5 separate regions of the Homo sapiens genome follow, and regions 2, 3, 4 and 5 are each linked to region 1. Evidence: promoter capture Hi-C in 16 types of primary human blood cells and fetal thymus (Javierre and others, 2016). All regions are on one chromosome and are shown on one strand. The core of a region is centred on a gene start or on the middle of the fragment in contact, and the rest is flanking DNA. Distances in the headings are between cores, read along the strand shown.

Region 1 (2,660 bases), core at 54-2,553:
ACCTGTTCCACCTTGCCCCTCCTGCCAATGCTCTGCGCTCGGCCTCCTGTCATGGTCTTCACAACGCCAGCCCTGGAGTAAGCCCCAGCGGAGGGGGCGGGGACTCCGAAAGGGTGAGGGGCTCTGGTCTGCGATGGGGCCACGGAGGAGACGAGGGCGGGCTGCACCAGCCACTGCAGGTCCGGACTGGTCGAGATGGCAGTGACCGTGGGAATGAAGTTGGCACTGGAGACGGCCAGGTCCGTGCAGAAGTCCTAGAACAAAACAGAAGGGGAAAGCCGACGTGAGCGAGCAGGTTCCGGACACAGGTGGGGCGAGTTCCCAGTGCCGCATGCAGCAGTGAAGAGAAACGATCCTGCCACGGACATTTCATCTTAAATGTCCCTCATCCTGGATGAAAGGTCTCCCCCTTTTCCTCCCAGGCATTCCGCAGCGCAGTGCCTGTCTCTTCCATCCTGCCGCTGCGTTCCCGTTATCCCTTCAGCATCACTTGCTTGAAAGGGGGTTTGTTATAAATATCCCTGACGTCTGCGCTGACGCAGGCGCCGCTCCGGAGTCTCCAGAATGAACTCGCTTTTTATCAATGAAACTGCCTTACACACCCGCCCGCTGCACCCTCCTCCCTCATCCCTCCTCCGTGCTCCAGGCTGCCGGGGGAGGGGGGATTGCCGCTTTCTGCCACCTCCCCGGAGAAGCCAGGCTCTAGTTAGCGAGTTTGTGCTTGGGACACGTCTGCTCCAGCTAATGTCAGAGATCCGTCCTGGAGTGCAGACCAGAGGTTGCTCAGAACGAACCTGCCTCCCGAAGGGGGAACCAATTCTTACTATGGCAAGCGTGCGTGCGCTCAGAGCAAGTCCCGAGCCCCCGAGCCGGCACCGCTCCGGCCACGGCAGCCTCCCTCCAGGCACAAGGGAGCCCCCTACTCATCTACTGGAGCGTCCCGCCCGGTGTCTCCTCCTCCGCGACCCCAAGCCCCCGGCCCCGCGGCGACGGGAAGCCAGCCTTACCTGCGCGTTGACAGGCGAGCCCATGCTGGAGAAGGAGTCTGCGGGTGAGTGGTAGTAAGAGAGGCTATCCCCGGCCGGGGACGCGCTGCTGCAGCGGGAGGATGACGCCTCGTAGTCTGCGTTGAAGCCCGAGAACATCATCGTGGCGGTTAGGCAAAGCCGGGCGAGGGGCCGAGGGGCGGAGACAGGTGGGCGCTGTGGAGCAGAGCTGGGTAGGAGCACGGTCACTGCTCGTTCGCTGCGCCGCGGCCGCCGGCTCAGTCTTGGCTTCTCAGATGCTCGCTGCAGATGCGGTTGGAGTACGAGGCGCCGCAGCCACTGCTTTTATAACAAGCGTTTTATGAATGAGTGTAAACGTCACGGGCTCAACCACGGTGGCGCCAGAGGGGTGGCGCGCGGGCCTGGGCGCTTCTGCGGCCGCCCGGCTGCGTCCCCAGCGCTCGCAGCTCCCTGCCCCCGCCTTGGCGCGTGTCCTAATCTCGTGAGCATTTCGCAGTTCCTGTCTCAGAGGTCTCGTGGGCCCCCCAAGATGAGGGGTTTCGGGGATGGCTCCCCCCAGGGCTACAGGGAAAGGCCGTGGAAACCTGCTGACGCAGATGTCCTAATATGGACATCCTGTGTAAGGGGGGAGGGATTGACGGGAACTGCTCGCGGGCTGCAGCCAACACCGAGGGTGCAGTGCGGGGGGAGGCGGGGGCCGCGGCTGGGGGAGGGGAGGCGGGAACGGCGCAGAATGAGAGAGAACATTCGCACCTGGTTCAATGCGGACCCTTGTTCCCGAGGTCGGGGGGGATGGGGCAGAGAGCGCCTTTTTACCCTTGTACGGAAACTGAAGACAGTTCTGAGGCTCAGAGATAGGAGAAACGGCATCGAGTACAGGACCCCGAGGACTTAAGCCTCGGCTCCCGAAGGAATGCGCCCCTACCCCCATCCCCAATTCTAGCCCTAATTCAGTGCAAAGCGTGGAAGCAGACCTTCATCCCCTAACCTCCAGCCCTCGGGCTCGAGCAATACTAGCACTGTTCCTGCGTTTGGAAGCAGAAAGTGGAGGATCCAAAATAAGAGAATACGATAACCTACTTTACGATACTGGGTACTTTATTTATTTATTTTTTTAAAGAAGACAGCGCATTTATTTATTTATTTTTCTCGGCCATGTGTGGGAATATTAAGGAAACTGTCAAATCCCTGAGACACCAGCAGATAAACACTGTGCAAAACCTACGTGCGAAGACATTTGAAGGGGGTGTCTGCCCGGTTCTGAGCTGGGCCCCAGGGGTAGGGAGTGCGAGGTGTGGTTATGTGGGCAGGGTGGTCAGTTCGGGATGACAAGGCGGGGTGTGCTTCCTGCGGGGAACTCAAATCTGCGCTGAGGGCTGGTTCGGTCCCGCCAGGAAGCTGTGCTTACGGGAGCCCGCAGCGGGTGATTTTCCAGCGCGGACTTGGAGGGTGGAGGACGGGGGCTGGAAGGACAGTGTCCAGCTGCGCCTGGGCGGAATACCTCGACTGCTGGGACCCCAGGAGCGGCTCCACGTCCTGGAACACGGGGCTTTGGGGAGGCAAGGTGCTCCAGAGTGTGCCACGCCCCCCAATCTCCTGCCCTGCTGCGTAGGACAGCCGGGGTCACGCTGCCGGGGCTCAGCCCCAGCGCGC
Region 2 (2,660 bases), core at 65-2,564, 330 kb before region 1:
TGGATCATTTGAGGTCAGGAGTTTGAGACCAGCCTGGCCAACCTGGTGAAACCCTATCTCTACTAAAAATACAAAAATTAGCTGGGCATGGTGATGTGCACCTGTAATCCCAGCTACTCGAGAGGCTGAGGCAGGAGAATCGCTTGAACCCGGGAGGCAGAGGTTGCAGTGGGCCAAGATGTGCCACTGCACTCCAGCCTGGGCAACAGAGCAAGACTCCATCTCAAAAAAAGAAAAAAGAAAAAGAAAAAGAAATCTCATGTTGAATTGTAATCTCCAGTGTCGGAGGTGGGGCCTGGTGGGAGGTGATTGGGTCAGGGGGGCAGATTTCTCATGAATGGTTTAGTGCCATCATCATTCCCTTGGTGCTCTCCTTGCAATAATGAATTCTCCTAAGATCTGGTTGTTTAAACCTGTGTGGCATCTTCCCCCTCACTCTCTCTTGCTCCTACTCTTGCCATGTGACACCCTAGCTCCATCATTGCCTTTCACCATGATTGGAAGCTTCCTAAGGCCCCGCCAGAAGTCAAGCAGATGCTGGCACCATGCTTCCTGTACAGCCTGCAGAACCATGAGCCAATTAAACCTCTTTTCTTTATATATCACCCAGCCTCAGATATTCCTTTATAGCAATCCAAAATGGACTAACACAAGCTCCATCTCCCAGGACCATGTCCACCTGGGGAATTATGTGGAAGTGACTTCCACACTCATTGCCCATGCCCACACAGTGCTGTGTGCATTGAAACACCACAAAGTTGGTACTATTTAGGCAAGTCTGCACACTCCAGTCCATAATTCTGTTGCTATAAATACTGCTCTCTACCCCTTGGCCAGCATCATTTAGATGTTTGCTTATACCTGCTAGTGAATAACTGATCTAGCAACATGGAGAATAAACAAGGGCTCCAAGACCTCAAGTGGAGGAGACCAGGCTAGAGTGAAGGCACTCTGCCAGGCAAGCTACCTTGGGACATGTAGTCGAGGTTTGGCAGGGGGTCTTGGGACTGAGTCTGCGGATGCCCCAGAAAGAAGCAAGGAGAGTCCAAGGTGGCTGCTGGGGCTGAGAGACACTGCAAAACTAAGAACCCAGAGCTTGAGCTTAATCATGAGAATGAGCCCCGAGCACCCAGGAATGCCAGGCGGCTCCACGGTAACCGATAATGTCCAGGCAAAGACCGCTCATATGACTGTTATTTGTGAAATCTCCAAATCCAAGGCTTCTTTTGAAAAGGTCAACTCGGGATCAAGGAGGTAGCAGGCCTTCAAAGACAAAGACAATCTAAACAACCTCATTGATTTGGTGGAAAATCACTCAGGAAGGGGGTTTATGGATTTAAAGGCTAAGCTAAGATCTCTAAGAACTTAGGGAGTAGGGTTACAGCTGGCCAACTCCAGACTTCCTTCAAGCTCCCGCCCCCGTCACAGGGTTTGTCCTGAAAGCTGTGATTATGCTGGTGGCTTTTACTGCCCTGACTCCTGGATTCCCTCAGTTCTTTGGGTGAAAGAGGTTAGAGAAATGCAGGAAGCAGCAGCTACTGAAATTAGGATAGCCTACAATCATTGATCCCTAGGGAAGATAATAATAGCGATGAGAGCTGATACACTGTGCTCAAAGCACCCTATAAATATATATACTCTTTGAATCATTTTATTTTTTAATTATTAATTTTTTTCTTTTGGGGGGCAACACTTCACTCCATAAAATAGAAGGCGTGCTCCCCTAATGTCTATTTTAAAGTGGAGGAAATTGGCATTTAAGTAGCTTGCCCAAGGTCACATAACAGTAAGCGATGAGGCTAAACTTCAAGCTCTGGCCATCAGTACTCATCTGTACTCTTATCCATTAGGTTAAAGGCGCTGGTCTTAAATGTTACTCAAACCAGGAGGAAGGAGGTGAATATGTACTGAGTGTCTGCTATGTGTTAGACAGCATGCTAAAGGCTTTTTCACATGATATTTCATCTATGCCCTCACAACTACCCCCTGAAGTTGGCACCATCATCTCTGGTTTGGGTTTTGTTTGTGGGTTTTTTTGTTTGTTTGTTTGTTTGTTTGTGAGACAGGGTCTCACTCTGTTGCCCAGGCTAGTGCAGTGGTGCGATCTCGGCTCACTGAAGCTTCTACTTCCCTGGCTCAAGCAATCCTCTCACCTCGGCCTCCCAAGTAGCTGCGACCACAGACATGCGCCCAACACACCTGGCTAATTTTTTGTATTTTTAGGAGAGACGGGGTTTCACCATGTTGCCCAGGTTGGTCTCGAACTCCTGGGCTCAAGCAATTCACCTGCCTCGGCCTCCCAAAGCGCTGGGATTACAGGCATGAGCCACTGTGCCTTGGCCTCTGGTTTGGTTTTTACAGATGAGAAAGCCTCTATAATTTGCCCAAGGTCAAAACAGCTTCTCCTGGCAAAACTGAGATTCATACCCTTGGCTATCTGATTCCAAAGCCCTCAACGGACAAGGTGAATGCCACAGAAAAGTGACTGCCCTCACACCCGACACTCCCTCCAGTCTCATATGCTCCATTCTGTAGTTCAAATGTCCCCAAATGTGTAGCTGTCGGAGGAAGCAAGGGTGAGAGGTGTCTCCAGCTACAGTTTGGTTTCTTTGCCACAGTTACACTTTACAGGTTTCTTGTTTTTATGTCATGCTTAGTTT
Region 3 (2,660 bases), core at 55-2,554, 310 kb before region 1:
AATATAGACAGTTATAGACAGTAAAGACCATTCTGATGAGGTGTCAGATGGAAATGAGGAACAAGGTATTGGAAACTGGAGTAAAAGCCATTCTTGTTATCTACTTGCAAAGAACTTGGCAGAATTCTGTCAGTGTCTTAGGAATTTGTGGAAGACAGAACTTAAGAGTGATGAACTAGGATATCTGGTGAAAGAAATTTCTAAGCAAAATATTGAAGGAGCTGTATTGCTACTTTGAAGCACATATAGTAAAACATGAGAGGAGAGAAATGACTAAAAGGTGGAATTAGTAATGAAAAAGAAAGCAGAGCAGAAAGATTTGGGAAATCTGAAGGCTGGCCATGTAGACTGAAAAAGTGTCCGTAGGAGAAAAACCAAGGGCGTGGCCAAGAAATCATTTGCTAAAAAAATTAGTAGACAGAAGGCAACCAGGCCTATTCATCAAGACAATGAGAGAAAAACCCTGAAGACATTTCAGAGATTGTCTAAGCAGGCTGGGGCCTTGAGGACAAGTGCTATGGTTCGGATATGATCTGAGTTTGTCCCCTCTTAAACTTATGTTGAAATTTTATCCCCAATGGGGTGGTGTTGGGAGGTGAGGCTTAGTGGGAGGCATTTGGATCATGGGGGAGGATCCTCCACCAGCTGATCTCATGGAAGCAGATTCTCACTCTCGCAAGACTAGATTAGTTCCTGCAGAAATGGGTGAGTTCCCATGATAGTGGGTTGTTTTAAAGCCAAGAGATCCCTTGGGTTTGCCTCTTTGCACGTGTCCACTTGCCCTTTAACCTTCTCTGTCATGTTATAATGTAGCATGAGAGCTACAACCCCCTGCAGGCTGCAGGCACGCCCTTGAATGTCCCAGCCTACAGAACAGTGAGGTAAATACACCTTTTCTTTATAAATGACCCAGTTTCAGGTATTCTGTTATAACAACACAAAATGATCTAAGACAGACAATTTGTACCAAGGAGTGGGGTTGTGCCATAAAGATACCTAAAAATGCAGAAGCAGCTTTGGAACTGGGTAACGGGCAGAAGTTGGAGGAGTTTGAAGAAATAGGCTAGAAAACACCTGAATTGCTGTGAACAGGGCATTAAGAGTAATTTTGATGAGGGCTCAGAAAAAGACAAAAAGATGAGGGAACGTTTGGAACTTCTCAGAGATTGGTTAGATGGTTATGACCAAAATGCTGATAGAAATATGGACAGTAAAGGCCATTCTGATGAAGGAAAGTAGCGTTTATTTGGAAACTAGAACAAAGGTCACCCATGTTATGCCACAGCAAAGAACTTGGCTGCATTGTGTCCATGCCTTAGGGCTTTATAAAATACCAAACTTAAAAATGATAACCTAGGGCATCTGGCAGGAGAAATTTCTTTTTTTTTTTCTTTTTAAAGGTGGGGTTTCACCATGTTGGCCAGGCTAGTCTCGAACTCCTGACCTCAGGTGATCCGCCCACCTCGGCCTCCCAAAGTGCTGTGATTACAGGCATGAGCCACCATGCCCGGCCTAGGCAGAAAAATTTCTAAGCAGCAAAATGCTCAAGACACAGTGTGGTTACTTTGACAGCTTAAACACAGCAAAGGAGTGACCTAAAGGTGAAATGTGTAAGAAGCAGAGCATTAAAATTTAGAAAATTTGCAGCCTGGCCAAGTGGTAGAGAATGAAAGAACATTTTCAGAAGAGGAATCTAAGGGTGCAGCCAAGGGACCTTTTGCTAAAGAGATTAGTTCTGACAGAAGGGAGCCAGGTACTAACAGAACAATGGAAAAAAGGCCCTGAAAGTATTTCAAAAGTCTAAGGCCATTCCTCCTGTCACAGACCCAGAGGCCTAGGAGGACAGAATGGTGGGATACCACTGCCCTGAGCCACCTCAGGATGCTTCTCCTAGCTGCTCTGGCCAGAGCAGCCATGGCCCAATAGCCCCAGGTACAGCTTGGGCCACTGCTCTGGAGAGTGCAAGCTGTGGGTCTTGGTGGCATCCATGTCCACATGGTACTATTGTTCATGCATGTGGAATGCAAGAGTGGTGGGCATGGCAGCTTCCACCTAGATTTCAGATGATGTATCAGCAAGCCTGGGAGCAGGCCAGGCACAGTGGCTCATGCTTGAAATCCCAACTCTTTAGGAGGATGAGGTGGGTGGATCACTTGAGTTCAGGAGTTCAAGAACAGCCTGGGCAAAATGGCAAGACCTCATCTCTACAAAACAAAAACAAAAACAAAAAAGAAACAAAATTAACCAGGTGCAGTGGTGCATGCCTGTAGTCCCAGCTACTTGGGAGGCTGAGGCTGGAAGATTGATTGAGCCTCAGAGGTCAAGGTACAGTGAGCTGTGATCACACCACTGCACTCCAGCCTGGGTGACAGAGTAAGACCCTTTGTCAAAAAAAAAAAAAAAAAAAAAAAAAGGAATGAAGAGAAAAAGAGAGCCTGGGAGCCTAGGCAGAAACCTGCCATGTGGGGGAGCCACCACAGACAGCCTCTGCTAAGACAATGCCAAGCAGAAATGTGAGGCCACAGCAGAGGACTCTTCTGCAAAGAGTCTTCACTAGGACAATGCCTAGTGGAGCCACAAGAGTAGGGCCACCGCAAGGACCCCAAAATGCTAAAGTCACTGGCAGCATGTGACCTCAGCCTGGCTAAGCTTCAGGCATT
Region 4 (2,660 bases), core at 44-2,543, 290 kb before region 1:
GTTCTCTCTGTCGACAAAGCGCACCACTAGCTCCCAGTGAGCCAAGCCTGAAGACTAAGGATTCCCCAGATCCCCCTTCACTCACTCTCAGTGTCACAGATGCTTCTTTCCTTACAGTCTTCCCTCCTGTCCTTTCTCACTGCCACCACCCTGCTGCAGCCTCTCCTGGCTTCTCACCTCCAACCCACGGCTGCCTCCTCGTTGTTCTCGCTCCTTCCAGTTCAGCCGGATGTCGCCTCACAGGATTTTCCAGTTCTCTTCAGGTCACTCCCTGCCTTGAACCCTCCAGTGGCCACCAAAACAAGGAAGGAAACCTAGAGAGGGTGAGAGGTTAAGGCTGAGGAAACCAGGAATCTGCCACTAGAGGCAAGCACTCCTCAGCTCTGCACACAAGGTCTTTGTGATGTTGTTCTGGCCACATCTCCCACCACTGTCCACTCCCCACCTTTTGCTCCAGACAGGTGGAGCCACCTGCAGCTCCCCATAAGCGTGCTTCACAATGCAGGGCAAGCGTCCCCTCCTCCAGGAAGCCTTCCCCCATGCCCTAAGTGTGACTCAGAGATTTCTTTCCATCCCTGCATGTGCAGCTTTGTGGTAGCTCCTGTCACACAGTTTCATAAATGTTTGTTTACTTCTTCAAGTTAACGACTCAGTGTGCGCTCCTCAAGCTTAGAAATGATGGCCTATTCATCTTCAAATCCCAACCTCTAGTGTCGCGTCTGGCCCGCAGAAGGAAAATGAAGGCCTGACTGCATTGACTTTTTGGATGCATTTCCTAGATGAGTCCTATTTCTAGGTGGCCTCACAAGAAATAAAAACATGTCCAGCTTGTTCCGGATGCTCATATCTCCTTGGTTGATTGTGTCTTCCTTTCTCTTTTCTGGAATGTGTCCCCTGTGGTGTTTGGGCCCCACTGCCACACCTCACAGAGCCCATGGGTGGGAAAGTTGGGAGGGCATTCCTGTGCCATGGGGGAGTCTAGATTTCTTCTCCTCCAGGGCCCTCCCAGCTCAGAGTCTCCAAGTCTGTCCTAGAAGGGAATGTGCTCAGGGGCTGCTGAGGATTCAGAGAAGAAGAAGATCCATTTTTCTCAGACGAGAGTCTAGAAGAAAGGCCTCCTAGCTGGACATGTAGATGCTGGGCTCTGCCCGGGACACATGGTTTGAAATAGACATTTCAGTTCCCTGGAAGTACATGAGTACATCTGGAAAGGCCTCAGATGGTATCAATCCTCCTCTAAAGACAAGGTCCCTGTACGTGGGTCACATTTTGTATCCTCAGCTGCATGTCCTTGGGTGTGATCATGGGTGGCCACTGTGTTATTCTTCATACCTGTTCTATATTTTAAATGCTTCTTAATAATTAGAAAACCAAAAAAAAAAGTTGCCCCATAAATATGAGAAAGAGCTAACTAAAAAACATGAGTCAAAGAGGAAGGAGACATTAAAATGGCTTGTCTTTTTGCATAATCTATAGAAAGCCCGGAGGTGTGAGGCTCCCTTTTCATAATGGAATAGAGAAACGGGGGTAGCAGCAAGATTTGTTGATTGCCAGGGCAACAGTTAAAGGCACATGGCATGACAAAGCAGAGGGGTGCTGGCTGGGCAGGGTTATGCAATGCTGGAGCCACAGTGACAGAGAAAGGACACACAAAGTCATCTCAGCCAGCCCCTTGATGTACAGGGTATAATACCTGGGCCCAGGGGACTGTCTTAACAGAGTCATTCATTTACCCACCATTGATCTCCTGCAGGCCAGGCACTGTGCTGGGTGTAAAGGAAACAAATTCAACAAAGATGAGGCTCTTGCCCTCCAAGAATCCACAAAGTAGTGGTGAGACAGTTATGTGAGCAGATCATTGCCAGGTGGTACAATAAATGTGTGGTCCATGCTGGTTCATGGGACTCCCAAAGCTTAGAGTCAAGGGGGGCTTCTCAGAGAGATGCTAGGTCGGGATCTTGAGGGATAGATGAGACTTAGCCAGGCCCTGTGGCAGGTGCTGAAGATCCTAGGAGTGAGCAAAACAAACGTGGTCCCTCCCTACCTTCATGGAGCTTACAGTGTCCTTGAGAGGACAAACATCAATCAAACACTTACATACACACATAAGTAAAATTATAAGTGCTATGAGGGTTATTTGTAAGAATTTATATAGATGGAACAGATGAGTGGGATCTTAAGCAATACGTTTTTAAAAAGTTAGACTTATGGCTCATGCTTGTAATCCCAGGACTTTGGGAGACTGAGGGGGCTGGATCACCTGAGGCCAGGAGTTCGAGACCAGCCTGGCCAACATGGTGAAACTCGGTCTCTACTAAAAATACAAAAAAAATTAGCCATGCATGGTGGCAGGTGCCTGTAGTCCCAGCTACTTTGGAGGCTGAGGCAGGAGGATCGCTTGAACCTGGGAGGCAGAGGTTGCAGTGAGCCAAGAGCATGCCACTGCACTCCAGCCTGGGTGACAGAGTGACTCCATCTCAAAAAATAAAAATAAAAATAAAATAAAAGTGAGACTTAACTTGGTGAAAGAGGGGGGAAGGGCTTTCCAGGAAGAGGGAACAGAATGTGCAAGGCCCTGAACCAGGAGGGAGCAGGGCCCTTTTAAGCCACAAAGCCAATGAGGCTGGAGCAGAGTGAGGGTGAGAAGCAAAGCCAACGTG
Region 5 (2,660 bases), core at 51-2,550, 270 kb before region 1:
CCTGTATTCCTTATCTTCTATGCACATTAAAAAGCAACAATGCAAAGTACTATATGGAATCAACCCAAGCATCCACCAACAGATGAACAGATAAAATGTGGTACATATACACAATGCGATATTATTTAGCCATAAAAAAGAATGAAATCCTGTCATTTGCAGCAACATAGATGAGCCTGGAGGACATTATGTTAAGTGAAATAAGCCAGACACAGAAAGATAAACACCACATGTTCTCACTCACATGCAGAAGCTAAAGAAGTTGAACTCATAGAAGTAAAGTGTGGAATAGTGGTTACTAGAGGCTGGAAAGGCAGGGCAGAGATGAGGACGACATAATGAGAGGATGGTTAAAGAATACCAAATTACAGCTAAATGAGAGGAATAAGTCCTAGTGTCTTAGCACTGATGGGTGACTACAGTTAACAATAACTTATTGTATGTTTTCAAATAGCTAGAAGAGAGGATTTTGAATGTTCCCAACACAAAGCAAAGCTGGGTGTGGTGGCAGACACCTGTAGTCCCAACTACTCAGGAGACTGAGGCAGGAGAATTACTTGAACCTGTGAAGTGTAGGTTGCAGTGAGCCGAGAGCCAAGATTGCGTCACGGCACTCCAGCCTGGGTGACAAGAGCAAGACTCCATCTCAAAAAAAAAAAAAAAAAAAAAATGAAGAGTCATGGTCCCCACCTGAGAAGATGAGAGGGAGATTCTAGGCAGAGGAAATGATGCATGAGCAAAGGCTTAGAGAGAGGAAAGTGCCAGATACGGTGAAGGACGTGGCTTTTTCAGCCTGGTCAATACACAGGGTTTGTTTCTGAGAAAGGGATGGACAAGCGTGTCAGGGTAGGTTGGTGGCCTGATGGGCTGGTGCCCTAGAAGCAGTAGGGCCAGCTGCAGGGGTGCTCCACCTCTGTACTACTGATGTTTTGAGCTGGATTATTGTTTGTGGGGTGTGCCCTGTGCATTGCAGCATGCTTAGCAACAACATTTCTGGCCTCTTCCCACTAGATGTTACTAGTACCTCTCTCCCAAGCTGTAACAACTAAAAATATCTCCAGACATTGTCAAATATCTTGGGGAATGGGGAGGATCACCCCCAGTTAGGAACCACTGAGCTAGGGGAATTGTTTAAATTCCTTATTTGGTTGTTCCATTGGCTCCTGCATTAGACAGAATTGAGTTAAGCTGCACTTAGAAAACCCAACTCAAGGTGATGTAACCAAATAAACTCTTTTCCACTTTCACTTAGAAGCCGTCTAGAAGTGGGCCAGCTGGAGCTTCTATCATCTTCACACTTCTGCAGTATTACCAGGGACGCAGAATCTCTTCCTCCTTTGTGTACACGGTTGCTTCACCTCTAACACCATATCTGCCTTCCAGACAGAAAGGAGGAGAAAGGCATGTGCCAACTGAGACAGCCCCACCTTTTGAAGAGCTTTCCCATAAAAGTCTTACCTAGCAAATTCTTGCATATCTCTTTGGCCAGAACTGTGCCATATGGCCATCCCAAACATCAAAGGAATCTGGGATATGTAATCTTTTCTCTAGGCATATTGCCATCTTAGACAAAACAAGAGTTCCGTAGTAAGGAAAAATGGAAGAATAGCTTTGGGAGGGCAATTATCAGTCTCAGCTACCCCTCCTAGCCTTGGTTTCTAGGTGTAATGACAAACTCAGCAATCTGTCTACAGGAATCTTCCAGAGGAAGCCAAAGAAACCTCCTGGGTAGCAAAGGTATTTGTGCAAATTTTCCTATTGAAGTCCTCTAAAAGGGGGCTCTTCATCTCTACCTACCAGTAGATTGTTCAAACCAGGATCAGGTTTTTATTTTATCTTCCTATAAGTGATTAAATTAAATCACATATCAGGTGGTTAAAAAACAAGATTTTTCAAGACCAGCCTAACCAATATGGTGAAACACCATCTCCACAAAAAAAAAAAAAAAAAAAAAAAAAAAAAATTATCTGGGCGTGGTGGCGCATGCTTGTAATCCCAGCAACTCAGGAGGCTGAGACAGGAGAATTGCTTGAATCCGGGCGGTGGAGGTTGCAGTGAGCCGAGATCGCACCACTGCACTCCAGCTTGGGCAACAGAGTGGGACTCAGTCAAAAAAAAAAAACACACACACACACACAAACCCACAAGAGTTTTAGAAGGGCTACATCTCTCTTTCCCTCCCATCCCCATCTCCCACTCCTCTGGTATCTACATGAGGCCAATGCAGTCACATGTCATTCCCATGGCAAGAATTCCATTAAATATCTCCTCTGCTCACTTGCTACAAAGCCTAAAATGCTACCATAAAAACTCTTTCCTTTGGGTCAAGTGTTACTTTCTCTAGGCATCTCTCTTTTTTGTTTTAGAGACAGGGTTTTGCATCTCGCTTTGTTGCCCAGGTTGGAGTGCAGTGATGCAATCATAGCTCACTATAGCCTTGAGCTCCTAGGTGTCTCTTAAAATGACAGTCTCCTCTGGCAGAAACGAGTATTAAATCTTTACTACGTTGGTGTTGATCTTAGTTCACTAGCCCTTTCTCCCCCTTGGAATTCCCAAGCAGCTTTGGAGCACTGAACCCGTGGGGAAGAAGGAAGAGAAATAGAGATAGCCTATCTGTCCCCAAGAGAAGTGGGGCATCCAGTAGTCTCACCTCCTTCCCC

What was found. Contacts are between HindIII fragments. The CHiCAGO score rates a contact against its expected background, and 5 or more counts as called.
Region 2: a contact is called between a fragment that was not itself captured here and the fragment with the promoter of FOS in region 1, in 1 of 17 cell types (monocytes). The highest score is 5.5, in monocytes.
Region 3: a contact is called between a fragment that was not itself captured here and the fragment with the promoter of FOS in region 1, in 1 of 17 cell types (M2 macrophages). The highest score is 5.1, in M2 macrophages.
Region 4: a contact is called between a fragment that was not itself captured here and the fragment with the promoter of FOS in region 1, in 1 of 17 cell types (activated CD4 T cells). The highest score is 6.5, in activated CD4 T cells.
Region 5: a contact is called between a fragment that was not itself captured here and the fragment with the promoter of FOS in region 1, in 1 of 17 cell types (activated CD4 T cells). The highest score is 11.4, in activated CD4 T cells.

The regions. Positions count from the first base shown.
Region 1 is chr14:75,277,471-75,280,130 of GRCh38, reverse strand. It overlaps FOS (Fos proto-oncogene, AP-1 transcription factor subunit), which reads right to left and starts at 1,303. Exons shown (of 4, transcript NM_005252.4): 1 at 1,008-1,303; 2 at 3-254. The coding sequence starts at 1,148. RefSeq lists enhancers at 1-385, 972-1,031, 386-1,313 and silencers at 1,402-1,461, 1,812-1,901, 2,630-2,660. The HindIII fragment of the contact is 6,704 bases long and covers 1-2,660 here.
Region 2 is chr14:75,611,135-75,613,794 of GRCh38, reverse strand. The region is part of intron 1 of FLVCR2 (FLVCR choline and putative heme transporter 2); the gene reads right to left. It also overlaps the pseudogene RNA5SP387. Among named protein-coding and RNA genes, the nearest start is that of FLVCR2-AS1, 33 kb to the right of the region's middle. The HindIII fragment of the contact is 1,616 bases long and covers 507-2,122 here.
Region 3 is chr14:75,591,560-75,594,219 of GRCh38, reverse strand. The region is part of intron 1 of FLVCR2 (FLVCR choline and putative heme transporter 2); the gene reads right to left. Among named protein-coding and RNA genes, the nearest start is that of FLVCR2-AS1, 13 kb to the right of the region's middle. The HindIII fragment of the contact is 2,694 bases long and covers 1-2,651 here.
Region 4 is chr14:75,569,938-75,572,597 of GRCh38, reverse strand. No RefSeq gene overlaps it. Among named protein-coding and RNA genes, the nearest start is that of FLVCR2, 7.4 kb to the left of the region's middle. The HindIII fragment of the contact is 1,245 bases long and covers 671-1,915 here.
Region 5 is chr14:75,551,447-75,554,106 of GRCh38, reverse strand. No RefSeq gene overlaps it. Among named protein-coding and RNA genes, the nearest start is that of FLVCR2, 26 kb to the left of the region's middle. The HindIII fragment of the contact is 4,651 bases long and covers 1-2,660 here.